Regions from separate parts of the Homo sapiens genome. Here regions 1, 3, 4, 5 and 6 are each linked to region 2. The links are contacts of gene promoters, found by promoter capture Hi-C in human tissues and cell types (Jung and others, 2019). All regions are on one chromosome and are shown on one strand. Each heading gives the region's core, a stretch centred on a gene start or on the middle of the fragment in contact. The rest is flanking DNA. Distances are from core to core; before and after follow the strand shown.

Region 1 (2,862 bases), core at 70-2,569, 310 kb before region 2:
CTAGAATTTCTTTCTTTTTTCTTTTGAGATAGAGTCTTAGCTCTGTTGGCCAGGCTGGAGTGCGGTGGTGTGATCTCAGCTCAGGGCAACCTCCACCTCGTGGGTTCAAGCGATTCTCCTGCCTCAGCCTCTCAAGTAGCTAGGATTATAGGCATGTGCCACCATGCTGGGCCTAGAATTTCAATTAATATTTATTCAAGGAGTGATTGGATCATCCAGGTGGTTACAACAGCATATACCAAATTCAAGAGTGAGGACAATATAAAGGATTTGGGTTACCAATTTTTACACAGCATTTGCATTTAACATTAGCATCAGGATTGGGATTAGTAGAAAATATTTATTACATATAATATCCAAGATGATTTTTAATGGAGGCAAGAATACAGGTATGGTCTTTCATTTTGTGCCTAAGTAACTTGATACCCCTTTGCAACAGAGAACACAAAAATAAGTAGTTGCTTATGGGTCATCAGAAGATCCATAAGTTGCAGAAATTTGAGCAGTTGGAAACTAAATTGATATTGATGATTTGAAAACATTATCAGAAGAAAGTATGAAAAATGAAATAAAAAGTAGAAATTAAGGAAATAAGGATAACAAAAGGAACACTTCAGAGACCCAACTCGAATGTTTGGACTTAGAAAGTATTATAGCATTTAAAATACCAGTATTAAGAGTTATTTTCAGAAATGCTCTAAGGAATGTTTCTATTCTATGTGCATCCCTGTGCCCTTGTGTTAGGGGTTGAATTGTGTCTACCTCTCCAAGAAAAAAAATAAATTGAAGTCCTAACATCCAGTACCTGTGAATGTGACCTCATTTAGAAATGAGTCTTTGCAGATGTAATCAAGTAAAGAAGAGGTCATTAAGTGGACTCTAATCCAATATGACTGATATCCTTCTAGGAAGAGGAAAAATGCCATGTGAAGATGGAAATATACCATAGGATGACAGAGGAAGAGATTGGAATGATGCAGTTGCAAGCCAAGGCATAGCAAGATTTGATGTTTATCACTGGAGGCTGGGAAGAAGCAAGGAGAGATTCTACCCAGAGTCTCAGAGCAACCATGGCCATGATGACAACTTGATTTTGGATTTTTGGCCTCCAGAACTATGAGAGAATAAATTTCTTGTGTTTTAAGCTATTCAGTTTGTGATACTTAGTAGGGGCATCCCTAGGAAACTAATACAATTTATTTATCTCTTTCTTATATCATCACATCACTTAACCAGCAAACTTTTATTAAACATCTACTCTGCATAGGTAATTCTGCCCCTTCATTTCACAGCTTTGAGAATCACACTCTTAACACAAAATTTGTCACTTAGAAGATTTACAAGTAAGAAGAGACAGCACAGCACAGGATACTTTGCTTTATCTTTTTTCCCTCAATTGTACTGAAGACATTCCCAGTAGTGCCATCTTTGAGAAAGAATGATACATATAGATGAATATTTTCCAGCATTTATGGGTTTTTGGCTCAAAGGTGTGCTAAAAGTGTCAAGTTGCTAGAAGATCTCTAGATAAATGGTATGCACGATGCTAGGCTTAAAAGGCATGTTTATACTAAAAGTGATAAGCCCAACACCACCTGTTATCATTAACATGACACCAGAGTTAGAAGGTATAAAAGGTTCTCAGGGGAATGATTCAATCTGAGAAGACCTCAAACTCTTTGTCAAAAAATTCTTCTAGGTGCATTGTACCTGTGCTGGATAAAGTAATGTGCAACTACTGGAAGATGAGTGTGCTGGCAGGATAAATAAGGATGACCTAAAAAGCTGTCATAGCTGGTGATCAGGCAGTAAAGATACACGCCATGTATAGTTTGTTAACTTATTGCATTAGTGGTGTCAAAAGTGCTAGCCACAATTTCCTACAGTAACTGAATTTGTTGATTGTTAGTCATGCCAACAAAATTGTTAGAACATAGAAAATACTAAAATTGAAACATTTTCCCTAAACTCTCGAAGTAATAGGAATTAGTCTCCATAAGTGGCTCTATAAAGAATCAATTAGAAAATTAGAAAATGAATTAAGTATCACGCTTTTTTTTTTTGGTTAGGCCTTTCTGTGAATGCCATAAAGTACTCTTACTTTTTTATGTATGACATCAAGCTCAATTATTATGGCTGATTAGAAGAACTGAGAACTAAGGGTAGATAAAAAATATATCCCATCCAGGCATCAGCAATTCAAGTGATATAAGACTTGTCTTTGTAAATTATTTTGTTTAAAGCCTCTTTGATACCTACTGAATGCTCAATATTTGGATACTTCAATAATATACTAAACCATTTCCTTCCTGATATCATTTTGATAGACTCATATGTCTTAGACCTAAATTTACAAAGGTATGCACTAGGATTTCATTACATTGAAGGAAACAGAAACTATGAAAGCATTTTTCACATTTCTGATTTCTGAGTCTATTTTCTTGGAGTCAAATGCTGCTGCAACATTTTGCTACAACAAACCAGATGGTACTAAATCTATTTTCTAAGAGAGGGTAGAAGATATCAGACTTGAATGTGGATGAAAAGTTCTGAGTTCTTTTCCAAAAAATGTCAAGTGGTAGTCAATTTAATCTACTTAAAAAACAACAAACAAACTAATTTAACTTCTGACAACAGAAACCTTTCAAAATTGTTCTAGTTAGGACCCAGTGAAACTTGAAGTCTGAAAAATGACACATGATGTATCACAACAAACAAGTCAGGGCTATATTGTATTAGATTCTCTTACGTTATTACCTTTAAAGATTTGGCTGGACTGTCTTCCCAGTGGGGGTCCCTAAATTGGCTGAGACAATGCAGCATTAGAGGCACGGACATTGAACAGTAATGCAGTGATGGGGC
Region 2 (2,868 bases), core at 252-2,751:
GCCATTGGGGAACATCCCAGCTGAGGGGGGCCAGTGGGGCTGCCAGGGCTGGGGCTTTCTCCTCGCGCACCCGCCGCCTGCGCCCTCCCTCCCCACCCGACCGCTTGCCTGCAGCCCACAGCCGCCCAGCGCCTCCGGGTAGAGCGCAACCGCTGCGGGGAGCGCGGCTCCTACCGGCGCCGGCGGGGCGCACAGCCCAGCGGTTGCCTGGGCTCTGCAGTTTGCAGCTCCGGGGTGCCCGGGCACAGGCGACCGTGGAGAGGAGAGGCCAGGATGTGGGAGCACCGCACGGCACAGCCATTAACTGGCGCGGCTCTGGACTGGTAAATGATTAATAGGCACCACCAGCGCGTCAGCAGCTACGAAAAAAGGGGGTGGGGTGGAGAAAGGGAGGAGAGCACATAGGTGGCTTGTCCCCCCCGCCCCCCATTTTTTTCCTTCCCAGTCCTGCACTCTGCTCAACTTTAGTGGCTCCTTCCGGGGTTCCCTCGCAGCACCATCTGCCTCTTGCTCTCAGAGGAACCAAGAGAGTTCCTCGGCCTTACTGGAGGGCGGGTGGGAACCAAAGGTATAGATTCTGTCTCATTCCACTCCTCTCCTACCCAAAGCAAAGACTCAAACGGATCCATGAACATGGATGTCTGGAGTTCATCTCAGTTTCCCTCCATTGCTGCCCTTTTCTCTGGAGACCCCAGCTTCTCTCCCGTCCCGCAGTCCAGAACCCTAAATTCCCTCTTCCCACCCTCGCTTGCCTTGCAGCTCAGACCCGCCAGGGAAGTTCCGGGCCCTCCTTACCCAAAGTGCGCAACCTCCAGACTGAGACGTAGATGGTCGGTGCAAAGTGCATGTGCGGTCTGTTAGCAGGTTGACGATCTTCGCGCAGACCAACTCCCTTCTTTGCGCCTGGCCCCAGCACAGGTGCCCACGCAATTACTCTTAGAATCGCGGAAACTGGCCCTAAGCTGCGAGCGTTATGAGAAGAAAGGACAACCACCGTGCGTTAGGGGCTTCTGCGCTATAACACAGCAGGCAGCTTAGGCTATTGGGAGTGTTCAGGGACCTGAGTGAACCATTCGCAAATCTCTTAATAAAGCTCGTAGCGCTCAGAGCCCCCCGTGTCTCCCACAGGAATATCGACTGCAGAAACGAGGACGCGCAGCTGGGAGCTCTGGAGGAGCTTGAGACTCCCTCCAGAAACGTGCCAGGCGCGGTGTTGGGAATCCACCTAGGTGTTCACTCGGGAAAGATAAGGCTGCGCCGCTTGGAAGGGCTCCACCCGCGTCCCTGCTGTACTTTGTACCCTGGAGAGTTGGCGGGTTCTGGCAGACGAGAGTTTAAAGGCTTGGGCGGGCGGGGACGCCAGCTCTTCTAAATCCAGGTGAGGAGCTGCCGCCGTGCGATGACCAGACCTGTCACCAACCCCAGGAACGGCAGGGCGACATTCGAGTTTTTCCGGGAAGAGCTAGGATGTCAGCTCTTTCTGAGGCTTGATTTGTGAGCTGGCTCTGGGTCACGTGCCCAAACCATTAGGAGATATCAATGTAGGCAAGCCTGAAGCTCACTGACTTCATTTAAGAATCAAAACGGTTTTCCCGTAAGAAAGAATGTATGTTCCGTTATCAGGATTTTAAACGAACCCTGGGACTTACCACCATTCTTACTCTAGGGTCTCTTTGGCTTTCCAACTGTTCCTGTGGAAGGAAGAATCACACTCCATGCAACTTCCCTGTTCCTTTTCATAAACGTTGCTTTGCTCGGTAAGATCCCTGCAAGCCTTTATTTGAAACTAGCCTGTTCACAGGAAGAGTGACCCGCAGCAGCTTAGTGCTCTGCCTCCTTCAAGCTTTGCTGTCTCCAGTTTTTCCTTAGTTTCTCCTTCTCCTCAACCAGGCTGTGCCCGCTGTACTGTAAGTCTCAGTTTTCCTCCTCTCAGTAGAGTTTACTCCAAGGAGAGGCTAAACTCCTCATGGAGGCTATCTGTACCGGTCCAGAATGAAGAAATGGATGCAGAAATTAAAAACAAAAAAGTATATTTCCTAATGCCCTGTTGCTTTATCCAGGTAATCACTTACATATACTGCATGTGTTTTAGTTCCCAAAACTAATTGTCTTGAACAGGAAAGAATAACTTCTGTAGTGTGTTGATGATAGCAATCAAAGACTAAAATAAATGACAGACTTTCATAGGAATGTGTGCAATTATTAATGAGGAATGTGCTAGGATGGAATTTGAAATTTCATACGGCTGAAACTGTTTTAACCCATTATTTTACCTGAACAAATTGCCTTCTTTAAAGTGGAATGTACAATTGGTGTTTAGTTATATTTATTTTTCCTTTACAAATACAGCACATATGGAGAGAAAATAAATGTTCATTAAGTTAAAAGAAAAGAGAGTGGGTATTGTCCCAGAATCCCAGAAGAGCATTTTACTAGCCAAGCCTCATATAATGCCTTAGATGCCTCTGCCAATCACTGACTAAAGACACCTGACTATCTGTACCTCTGGGAGCTTGGATTTCAACAGTCATTATTTAGATGCCTTGGCTTTGATCATGGTTGCTCTTTGGGAAGTGTGTGATGGGAGTCAGTGAAAAACAGCTCTGTTGTTCAGAATTTCATTAAATTCACTTTCAGCTCATCTTAGGGAAAATTTCTCTCAATTTTGTGGCCTCATATACAAAAGAAGAAAACTTAAGACCTGACGTGAGAATGCTTTTTATTTTTATTTTTTTGAGATGCCACTTTTCACCCACTAGGATGGCTATAAGAACATTTTTAAAAACAAAAAATAAACGTTAGTGAGAATGTGGAGAAATTAGAACACTCATACATTGCTGGTGGGAATAAAAAATGATGCAGCAACTT
Region 3 (2,749 bases), core at 140-2,639, 330 kb before region 2:
AACAAGATGAAAAACATGCACAGGATGATCCTAGTTTTGTAAAGAAAAGAAAAGAAAAAAAGAAAAAGGTGCTTATATATATTCATAGAAAAAGTCAAAAATATAAATATTCAGGGTAAAATCTGTGTTATAAAGGTATGGCTTTTACTTTTGGCTTTATCAGTTTCTACATTTTGATTTGTTAGATTAAATCTGTATTGCTGTTATAACTTAAAAGCCCAATAAATAATTTTTTAAACCACGAGACTATAGATTTCATTTGCAAATTATTATTAACTTAAAATTAGTTTCTTATGGCTGCTGTAACAAATTACTATGAACTGGGGCCAGGCACAGTGGCTCACACCTGTAATCGCAGTACTTTGGGAGGCCGAGGTGGGTGGATCACTTGAGGTCAGGAGTTCGAGACCAGCCTGGCCAACATGACAAAACCCCATCTCTACTAAAAATATAAAAATTAGCCAGGTGTGGTGGTGCATGCCTGTAATACCAGCTGCTTGGGAGGCTGAGGCATGAGAATTGCTTGAACCCAAGAGGCGGAGGTTGCAGTGAGCTGAGATCACACCACTCCACTCCAACCTGGGCTACAGAGTGAGACTCTGTCTCAACATAAATAAATAAATAAATAAATAAATAACCAAATTACTGCAAACTGGATGGTTTAAAAATACAGCAATTTATTCTTCTATAGTTCTCGAGGCTGAAAGTCTGAAAAGAAGATTTCAGTAGAGCCATACTCCCTCCAAAGGCCCTAGGAAAGAATCTTCCTCTGCTTTTTCTAGCCTCTGGTGATGGATGGCAATCCTTGGCATTCCTTAGCTTGCAATGCATCAATCCAGTCTCTGCCTTGGTCTTCATATGGTTTCTTCTCTGTGTCTTTACATAGTCTTCTTAAAGGGACATCAGTCATTGGATTTAGGGTCTACCGTAATCCAGTATAACTTTGCTATAACATAACTAGTTACATATACAAAGACACTATTTCCAAAGGTCACATTCTGAGCTTCTGGATGGACGTGAATTTTGAGGGGACACTCTTCGTTCCAGTACAGACATTACTAAAGAACGCTTACAAACAAGGGTCAGTATCGACAAGCTTTATGTGTCAAAAAGTCTTTTCTGAAGGCTGCCATCTCAGGAGTATCTCACCATTACAGTTCATTGTACCCATTGGACAGGCATAGGATGAAAGCATGGGATGATATTATTGCTGCTACAGGTTTGAAGAACTTACCAAGCTTCAGGTCATCTCTCCTCCAGGCTTCGACCTGAATGCACTTTACTTACGTTACCCCAGCTTTGAGATTAAGCAGCTTGTAGTTTCTCTTCTAGTCTCTAGCTTTACTTTTGGTGTGAGATTTTGTTTGTTAATAACAAGAGTTTAGGGAAACTTTTTTTTCTTTAATCTAGGTTTTTGTTGTTGTTATACTTTAAATTCTGGGATACATGTGCAGAATGTGCAGGTTTGTTACATAGGTATACACGTGCCATGGTGGTTTGCTGCACCCATCAACCCTTGATCTACATTAGGTATTTCTCCTAATGGTATTCCTCCCGTAGTCCCCCACCCCCCAGCAGGCCCTCGTGTGTGATGTTCCCCTTAGGAACACTTTTAATTTCTTTATTTCTTATATTCACTCCACAAATGTGATCAGCACATATTATCTGCAAGGATAGAGCGTATCCAAATACTCTTTGTAAAGCAAGATTTGATCTTATGTTTACCAGGCGGGAGAACTGGATATCATTAAAAATCCTATATGGCAAAGCATTTGTGAACCAGTGCAGAAGGAAAGATTGAGGTCAATAGTTTACAATGTTACTAACACTGTATCTTTTCCATTGGTAAGCTCCTTCCAAGAATCTGGCTCTTAAATATATCAGTTAAACCACAGTCTTTACGGTAGAAAATTTATTTGTAACAATTTACTGTTTAGCTTTTCCTTAAGCCTCAAATCAGTTATCTATACTTACTGTTAATGCTATTTGCACAAAGTACTCTGTGCAATGCAAATTTCTGTCCCTTCTCCCAAAGGGCTAAAAAAATCACATGGTGAGAGAAAGAAAATGCAAGAGACATTCTGAATTTAATTCATGAGGTTTTCTTTTTTTCTGTCACATATGTAGTATTTGTATCAGAGTCAGAATTTAGAGCTAAGTTTGAACATTCAACAGATAAAAGAAAATGGTTTTATGTGGCAAACCTACTGCTCCAGAAAACAAGTAATTAAAGGATCTCTTAAAATAGCAGCCATAAATTGACATTCCATGGGAAGCCATGATTTCATTACTGTTTTTTTTTTTTTAGTGAGGCTCTTCCCTGGGCACTATTCTGAGAAATGGAATCTGTTAGCAGAATGAGCATATCACCCAAGTACTCCACATCCTCCTCTACAGAAAGCGTTAGTGCCTTTCTGGAAAACGCGGGATAATTTTATCATGTCATGTGGAGGTATTACCTTGCTATTATCTTTGTTTGGAGATTAGTATTATTTAAGAAGATATGTAAGGGTGCCATGTTGATGAGGGGTAGACTTGTAATGGTTAATAATTTTTTGTGTCAACTTGGCTAGGCATGGAAAAGAGATGGTTGGTCAAACATTCTTCTAGATGTTTCTGTAAACCTTTTTTTTTTTTAAAGATGAGATTAACATTTATATCAGTAGACTTTGAGAAAAGCAGATTACCCTTCATAATGTAAGTAGGCCTCACCCAATCATTTGAAGACCTTAATAAAAAAAAAAATAAA
Region 4 (2,700 bases), core at 136-2,635, 510 kb after region 2:
CAAATAGAAACCAATTGTGATTGCTAATCACTGGGAAACCAGGTAATTTTTAATTCATGAAAGGATGCACTAGCATTGCAATTTTTACTAGAAGTCAAGTTTGAGAAAATGCATTCAAAATATACCATGAAAAGTATGGGTACTAATAATCTTGTGATAGTGTCATTAAAAGTGATCTTTTAGAATAGTATTCTCATATACCTAGGATAGTTAAATTATAATACTAAAAAAGTTTCCATTTAACTTAATATTTAACATTTGTAATTGTCTTAAAACATGCAGTACATTTTTCAGTATTTTTACCATGGCTTCTGAAAGGCGAGAGACTGTAGAGCAAGCATTCTCAATGGGCAGGTGATATCCCTCCCAGGAGGTAAAAATTGGTGCTTTGGGTCGGGGGAGCACAGTGTGATTAAAGTTTGCTCTTTTTATTTATAAAGCACATACATTCATATAGTATATAAACAGATATACAGTATATCTGGCATATTAAAATTTAATCAGGAGGGGCGATTAGAAGAAAAAAAGCCTTAAAATTCTCTTTAAGTGGGTGATAATGAAAAGGCTGAGAAAAACTGAGTTAGACAAACCTGGATTCTATCACTATCAAGAGATAAGAACTTCAGCAAGTAACCTGGTATCACGAACCCTAAATTTCTTCATGAATAAAATGGAAATTACAACTTCTCCCTTACAGTTGAAGATTTAAATAGGAAACATATGCAAAGCACACAGCACAGTTGCTCGGAATATAGTTACTGCTGCATAAACATTAGGTTCCTTCCCTTTTCTCCTTTCTTTTGAGGATGCTATAAATTATATACTCTCCACAAAAGAATATGCAGATTCCAAAGGAAGGTGAGACCCAAGGAGAAGGAGAACAAACTCCAAGAGCAATGACTTTTGTATGTGATCCCTGGACCCAAGTATACCCAATGATGGTGAAATCTAGTTCAAAAGACTGGGTCCAAGTGTCAAATCTGTGATTTTTTAAATTGTCTATGTGTAGCTAATTGCTTAAATTTTATTACTCTCAATTTCCACATCTGTACTCCAGAGCTGTGATGACAAACAAATGAGATCATGTATGTAACACTCTGGGAATACTAAAGTTACCTTACAATTGGGAATGGGTTCATGTTAATATTGTCAGGAAATGGAGACACAGACCTAGACTGTATACCTGAGGAAGCAGCAGAAAAAAACAAAAACTGCTCCCTCCTCTTTAGTGTCCAAGAACAGAATCAAGTCTTTAAAATCTAGAACTCAAAAGGCAGGATTTATATGACAGTTTACATTTAGCTTAAAATCAAATTACCAGTGGAACTCTTACCTATCTGTTTGTTCTTCATCTGTAAAGCGATCATCTAAGAAAGAGGTTCCAAATTTTCCAAGCAGGGTATCGTGGCCTTTCCTGTTAGCAGTGTGATACACTCGAGAAGCCAGGCGCAAGTCAACAGGCAGCTCCTGGGCTGGGATGGTGGTGCACAGATCATGAAGGTGCGGCATGGAGTAGTCTTGTGGAATTCTGCAACAGAGAAAAGAAAGTGAGCTCCTTTCATCATTTTGTGGACTTTAGATATAAAGTACATTTATACTGACAATTTAGTTCAGGTTCTAAAGACATACATAAATGGAGGAGATCTGATTTAAAACTATAATAATGGTATATAACAAATTTAATATCACAATCTCAGGCCATTGTCCAGAGCTTTAAACTTGTATCCAACTGCCTGCTGAATAGCTCAACCTACACCTCTACAGACAACAGTCTACAGGCATCTCAGGATCAACAAGTCTAAAAACAAACTCTTTATCATCCCACCCCAACCTCTTCTCTCCTGAATTCTGAAACTCAGTCTGTGGACACCATATCCAGCCATCATGTATTACTCCTTTGCTACTCTGGTCAAATGCTAATGTCCCTAAAGAAGTGGAACAATATAGGTAGGGCATTATCCATTAACTAGCATTGATAGAACTCTGGGTTTCTCTGAGTCAGTGTGGCATCTCCTTTCCCACTCTGCTTGGACTTGTATCTCTCTTCTGTCTTTCCTAAGTAGAGAGGATGACATGAAAATCTGCTTTTTTTTTTTTTTTTTTTTTTTTGTGAGATGGAGTCTCACTCTGTCACCCAGTCTCAGGCTGGGATGCAGTAGCACAATCTTGGCTCACTGCAACCGCCGCCTCCCAGGTTCAAGTGATTCTCCTGCCTCAGCCTCCTGAGTAGCTGGGACTACAGGCCCGTACCACCACGCCCAGCTAATGTTTGTGGTTTTAGTAGAGATGGGGTTTCCCAATGTTGGCAAGGCTGGTCTCAGACTCCTGACCTCAAGTAATCTGCCTGCCTTGGCCTCCCAAAGTGCTGGGATTACAGGCGTGAGCCACTGCGCCTAGCCAAAAATCTCCTTTCTTAATCCCCAGTGCCACCTGTAATCCAATCAACAAATAATTATTGAGCACCTACTATATGCCAGATTCTGTGCTAGGTCCTCTACACACATTTTCTCTAATTCCCACAACGAAGCTGTATTGGAGGTATAATTATCCTTATTTTGGGTAGGTCACAAAATTAGTGGGTAAGCCCTGGCATCCAAACACAACATTACTGGCTATTGGCCACATTTCTTGCCTATTAGTGACTTCTGGGTGGAAGTGGCCCTTCTCCAGAAGTACTCCATCCCTACCTTCCTACTAAAG
Region 5 (2,700 bases), core at 181-2,680, 320 kb after region 2:
GTGAGAGTAAGAAATCTCTCTGAAGGGAATTAGATCCTCTCATTTTTCCTGGCTTAAAATCACAAAAATAGAAGAGAAAGCGGTAGCTTCATTCTAGCTTTTTTCTAACTTTACAGTATAATATTCCAATAGATTGTATCTCTTTATGTATTGTATCCCTTTTATGAAAATACACAGACTTCCAGTTTCTAATCTGGCATGTAAGCAGCTAACAAGTCTTCACTGCAACCCAAAAAGTGAAGAGCTAAACAAACAGGAACATCAACAACTCTTCTTAGATCTATCAGAGAAGGGAGGTCACAGGGAAAACCACCACCCCAAAAACTGGAGACAGACAGGCAGATACAGAGAATCACAACTTAGCAGAGCAGAAACCTTCACAGCAACCAGTACCTGAAGAAATAAAGGTAAAATAAAAACATTTACTTTTTTTATTCTTAATAGATCTAACAGATAATAACATGTTCAAAATAACAGTAACAATGTATTTGATTATATATGTCTGTGTGTGCGTGCGCGCGCGCGCGTGTGTGTGTAAGTGAATGGCAGTGAAGACACAAGAAACAGGGCTGAGGAAGGAATTAGGAATACTTTGTTATCGTAAGGTACTCACAGTACCCATGAAGTGTTATAGTGTTATCTGAAAGTGAAGTAGAATTAGTTGTAAACATGTATTGCAAACTCTAGAGCACCCACTTTAAAAAAAAAAAAGCTTTTAAAAAATGAGTATAATTGATAAGAAAGGAGAGAAGATTGAATCATATAAAATGCTCCTTTAAAACCACAAAATGCATAAAAGAAGTGGAAAAAATGGGAAGAAAGAATAAGGGCAACAAATAGAAAACAGTAACAAATGTAGCAGGTGTTAATTGAACTATATCAATCATCACCATAAACGTCAGTGGCCTAATGCACAAATTAAAAGATACAGATTGTTGGCCAGGTGCAATGGCTCATGCCAGTAATTCCAGCACTTTGGGAGGCTGTGGTGGGAGAATCACTTGAAACCAGGAGCTCAAGACTAGCCTGGGTAACATACCAAAGCCCTGTCTCTACAAAAAAACTTTAAAAATTGGCTGAGCATAGTAGTACATGCCTGGAGTCCTAGCTACTTGGGAGGTTGAGGCAGGAGGATGGCTTGAGCCCAGGAATTAGAGGTTACAGTGAGCTGTGATTATACTACTGCACTCCAGCCTGAGAGGCAGAAATAGACTCTTAAAAAAAAAGAAAGAAAGAAAGAAAGAAAATTGTCAGAGGAATCAAAAAACAAGGACCAACTATATGAACTATTTGTTGTCCAGCTGAAATCCCCTTTAAATATAAAGACACATATAGATTAAACGAATGGAAAAAGATATACCATGATCTTACTAATCAAAAGAAAAATGTAGTAACGATATTTATTTCAGACAGAGCAGATTTCAGAGCAAACAAGTTATCAGGAATAAAGAAGAACATTATATAATGATTTAAAAAAAGGGTCAATACTCTCAAGAAGACATAACAATCTTTAATGTGTATGCACCCAACAACAAAGCATCAAAATACATGAGGCAAAAACTGACAGAACTGCAAGGATAAATAGATTAATCCACTATTATAGTTGCAGACTTTAATATCCCTCTATCAAAAATGGATAGGTCCAACAGGCAGAAAGCCAGTAAGAACATAGTTGAACTCACTAGCATCATCAATTAACTGGATATAGCAGACATCTATAGACTATTTCATCCAACAGTAGCAGAATATACATTCTTCAAGTTCACGAGAAGCATCCAAAAGATAGATTACATTTGGGGCCATAAAACAAACCTTAGCAAATTTAATATAATAGAATCATATAATACCTCAAACCACAATGGAATTAAACTAGAAATCAATAACAGAAGAATGTCTAGAAAATCTAAAAATACTTGAAGATTAAACAACACACTTCTAAATAATATGGGTCAAAGAAAAAATCTTAATAAAAATTTTAAAATATTTTGGCTGGGCACAGTGGCTCACACCTGTAATCCCAACACTTTGGGAGGCCAAGGCAGGTGGATTACTTGAGGCCAGAAGTTCAAGACCAGCCTGGCGAACATGATGAAACCCTGTCTCTACCAAAAATACAAAAATTAGCCAGGTGTAGTGGTGCGTGCCTGTAGTCCCAGCTACTCAGGAGGCTGAGGCAGGAGAATTGCTTAACCCCAGGAGGTAAAGGTTGCAGTGAGCCAAGATCATGCCACTGCACTCCAGCCTGGACAACAGAGTGAGACTCTGTCAAAAAAAGAAAAAATAAACAAAATATTTTAAGCTAAATAAAATAGAAAATACAATTTAAAAAACTGGGGGGATTCAGTGAAAGCACTGTGTAGAGAGAAATTTGTAGCATTGAATGATTATATTAGCATTGAATGATTACATTAGAAAAGAAGAAATATGTAAAGTCAATGATCTAAGTCTCCACATAAGAAAACTAGAAAAAGAAAAACAAACTAAATCCAAAATAAGCAGAAGAAAATTATTATTATTATTATTACTAGAAATCAATAAAATTGAAAGCAGGAAATCAATAGAAAAATATCAGTAAAACCAAAAGCTGGTTCTTTGAAAAGATCAATAAAAATCAATAAGCCTCTAGCCAGGCTAAGCAAAAAAAAGAAAGAGAGAGAACACACAAATCAATAAATGAAAATGAAATTAGGGACCTCAGTA
Region 6 (2,700 bases), core at 150-2,649, 370 kb before region 2:
ACTCTCTTTTCGCCCCTCTCCTCTCTCTCTCCTCTTCTTTTTTGAGATGGAGTCTCGTTCTGTCACTCAGGCTGGAGTGCGGTGGCATGATCTCAGCTCACTGCAACCTCCGCCTCCTGGGTTCAAGCGATTCTCCTGTCTCAGCCTTCTGAGTAGCTGGGATTACAGGCGCCCACCACCATGCCTGGATAATTTTTGTATTTTTAGTAGAGATGGAGTCTCACCAGGTTGGCCAGGCTGGTCTCAAACTCCTGACCTCAGGTGATCCGCCCGCTTTGGCCTCCCAAAGCACTGGGATTACAGACGTGAGCCACAATGCACAGCTGGGCCCCCATTCTTTCTATAACCTCAAGATGGTGTTCACTGGGGTTTGAGTCTTCATTCTGAAGACTCCTGTGGATACAAGTTAAATAACTTTGTATGCCTTTTCTCCTATTAATCAGTTGTCCTCATGTCTGATTTTTCAGCAACTTTAGCAAGACCATTGGCCCCCACAAGAGTATTGAGAAAATATAAAGAGATTATTATATGCTGTTTTGCTTTTGTTTGTTTCTATGTTTTGCTTTTTGGGGGAAAGAGGAGACAAAAGAAGGTGGAAATGAGGAGTAAAAAGTTCAACATAGAATGTCGATTTGCTGTATTTACTGATTACAGCAGGAAACATAAATCCTCTTGCTTATTATTAAAAAATACAGCCCTGAATGTGTGTCCTACATTCCTACAATGAATAACAGCTGCATTAGCATTCCAAAGAAAATCCTGGCTATTGGATTTCTATAGTGAAGGATTGTTTCAATAGACCTCAATTTGCTTTTTAAGACTGTTTGCAATTTTGTTAAACTTTTATATCATCAGCACCAAATTATTTTTGGCTTACCTGGCCAAAGCTGGGAATAAACCTAGATTCTATTTTGAATATACATACTATGTAGACATCTAATTATGTAGCCAATGCAAAGATATGGTATATGATTTTTCAACCTATTACTAGTCAGATATGTCAAGCTCATTCATATAAGAAAAGGTATTTCATTTCAAAACTTAAGGTCACTATGATAATACTATTACAGTGTGCATATAATTCAGATAAAATATTTTTATATTTATATATTTACAAATATACTTACAAAACAAATGAAAACTTAGAATGAGCTGCAGGAATAGCTGTAATAACATACATAGTCTGTGTATTCACTGAAAGCATTTTGTTCATAAGGTTGGAAACATTGAAAGAATCATGGAGTATAAAAAGAGCCTTGCAGGAAAAAATTATTTCTCATTTATGAAAAAACCAGAAAAAAATGTGTGGTATGAAATATGAAATATGAACTTTGTTATATCACAGAAAATTATGAAATTTTCCTTGGAGTGACCCCTTTTTCATATGGCTTAATGTATAAGTGATGTATATAAACTGTACATATTTAATCTATACAACTGAAAAAGTTTTGACTTTTGTATACATCTATGAAATTATCACCAAAATTACAATAATGAACATAACCATTTATTTAACATTTCCTCATGCCCTTTATATAAACTCTGTCTTCTTCTTCTCGTCTTCCTTCTGTGCCATGCCCAGGTAACAACTGATTACTTTCTGTTGCTATAGTTTAGTTAGCATACTATATAATTTTATATAAATGTGATCATACAGTATGTGAACTTTTGTGGGGAGGCATATGGCTGCTGTTACTAGGCATATTATTATGAGATTCATCTGTGTTTTTGCATGTATCCATAGTTACTTGTTTATATTTCCATTATTCCATTATAGAATATACCACTTAGACATTTGCAAGCTTCCAGTTTTTGTATATAACAAAGCTGCTGTGAATATTCCTACAAAAGTCTTTGGGCATATTCTTTATCATAGGTAAATACTTGAGGAAATACTCTAGAGGAAATTGGTAGATATCTGGATTATATGGTAGATGTCTGTTTAACTTATAAGCAACAATAACGTTGTTTTCCAAAGTCATCATACCGTTTTACATTCCAACCAGTAGTGCATGAGAGTTCCAGTTCTTCCACATCCTTAGCAACAAATGGTATGGCCAGTCTTTTAAATTTTAGTAATCCTAGTGGATGTAAAGTAGTATCTCATTGGAGTTTTAATTATTTATTTTTTTTAATGACATATGATGTTCAGTATCTTTTCATATGTTTATTTGTCCTTTGCATAATTTTTGTTGAAGTGTGTTCACTTTTTTCCCCATTTTTAATTGAGTTGTTTGTTTCTTACTGAGTTCTGAGTTTTTTGTTTATTGTGGATATTCTTACTTTTAAGTTTTGGCGGGTCGGACCAGGGCAGTGCTCAGTTTAGGGCTAATTATCCCCCAGTACTGAAGCAAGGCTCTTATGTGTTTTCTATCCAAGCCCTATGAATCTTAAATTTTCCAAGTCTGGCTGGTGGCAACAGGCACTATTCCTGGACTCCTGGGAAAACCAAGTATCACTAGCTCTAATTCTTTTGGGTGGATCTTTCCTCAGCCTTAGGTAATTTCTTAAAGAATATGTGTTGATCAGTAATCAACTGAAAACCTGAGGAGAACTCTGCGGGTCTCAGGCACTCCTGTTCTACACAGTTTTCTCCTCTCTGGTATGCTGTCCTGAGAATTCTAGCAACCTTGGTTTCCTCAACTCAGGAGATCTGCTGGGTACTTCCTGCTTTTCTTCTCCCTGCAGCATGGCTTGGGA

Evidence for each region. The method cuts DNA at HindIII sites, captures the fragments that hold promoters and counts their contacts. A contact is called where the count stands out against the background at its distance.
Region 1: a fragment that was not itself captured here is called in contact with the fragment with the promoter of SSTR1 in region 2 in 1 of the 25 tissues and cell types used here (mesendoderm cells).
Region 3: a contact is called between a fragment that was not itself captured here and the fragment with the promoter of SSTR1 in region 2, in 2 of the 25 tissues and cell types used here (mesenchymal stem cells and mesendoderm cells).
Region 4: a fragment that was not itself captured here is called in contact with the fragment with the promoter of SSTR1 in region 2 in 1 of the 25 tissues and cell types used here (mesendoderm cells).
Region 5: a contact is called between a fragment that was not itself captured here and the fragment with the promoter of SSTR1 in region 2, in 1 of the 25 tissues and cell types used here (H1 embryonic stem cells).
Region 6: a fragment that was not itself captured here is called in contact with the fragment with the promoter of SSTR1 in region 2 in 1 of the 25 tissues and cell types used here (mesenchymal stem cells).

What each region holds. Positions count from the first base shown.
Region 1 is chr14:38,512,048-38,514,909 of GRCh38, reverse strand. No RefSeq gene overlaps it. Among named protein-coding and RNA genes, the nearest start is that of CLEC14A, 260 kb to the right of the region's middle. The HindIII fragment of the contact is 4,676 bases long and covers 1-2,862 here.
Region 2 is chr14:38,206,537-38,209,404 of GRCh38, reverse strand. SSTR1 (somatostatin receptor 1) reads right to left here and starts at 1,501. Exons shown (of 3, transcript NM_001049.3): 1 at 1,301-1,501; 2 at 796-962; 3 at 1-359. The coding sequence starts at 15. LOC124903303 (a long non-coding RNA gene) reads left to right here and starts at 118. Exons shown (of 2, transcript XR_007064117.1): 1 at 118-323; 2 at 1,129-2,190. RefSeq lists enhancers at 1-54, 1,038-1,699. The HindIII fragment of the contact is 11,122 bases long and covers 1-2,499 here.
Region 3 is chr14:38,532,257-38,535,005 of GRCh38, reverse strand. No RefSeq gene overlaps it. Among named protein-coding and RNA genes, the nearest start is that of CLEC14A, 280 kb to the right of the region's middle. The HindIII fragment of the contact is 4,397 bases long and covers 1-2,749 here.
Region 4 is chr14:37,700,160-37,702,859 of GRCh38, reverse strand. It overlaps TTC6 (tetratricopeptide repeat domain 6), which reads right to left. Exons shown (of 33, transcript NM_001310135.5): 7 at 1,334-1,528. Among named protein-coding and RNA genes, the nearest start is that of TTC6, 110 kb to the right of the region's middle. The HindIII fragment of the contact is 5,282 bases long and covers 1-2,700 here.
Region 5 is chr14:37,885,672-37,888,371 of GRCh38, reverse strand. No RefSeq gene overlaps it. Among named protein-coding and RNA genes, the nearest start is that of LINC00517, 15 kb to the left of the region's middle. The HindIII fragment of the contact is 7,378 bases long and covers 1-2,700 here.
Region 6 is chr14:38,580,196-38,582,895 of GRCh38, reverse strand. No RefSeq gene overlaps it. Among named protein-coding and RNA genes, the nearest start is that of CLEC14A, 330 kb to the right of the region's middle. The HindIII fragment of the contact is 5,097 bases long and covers 1-2,700 here.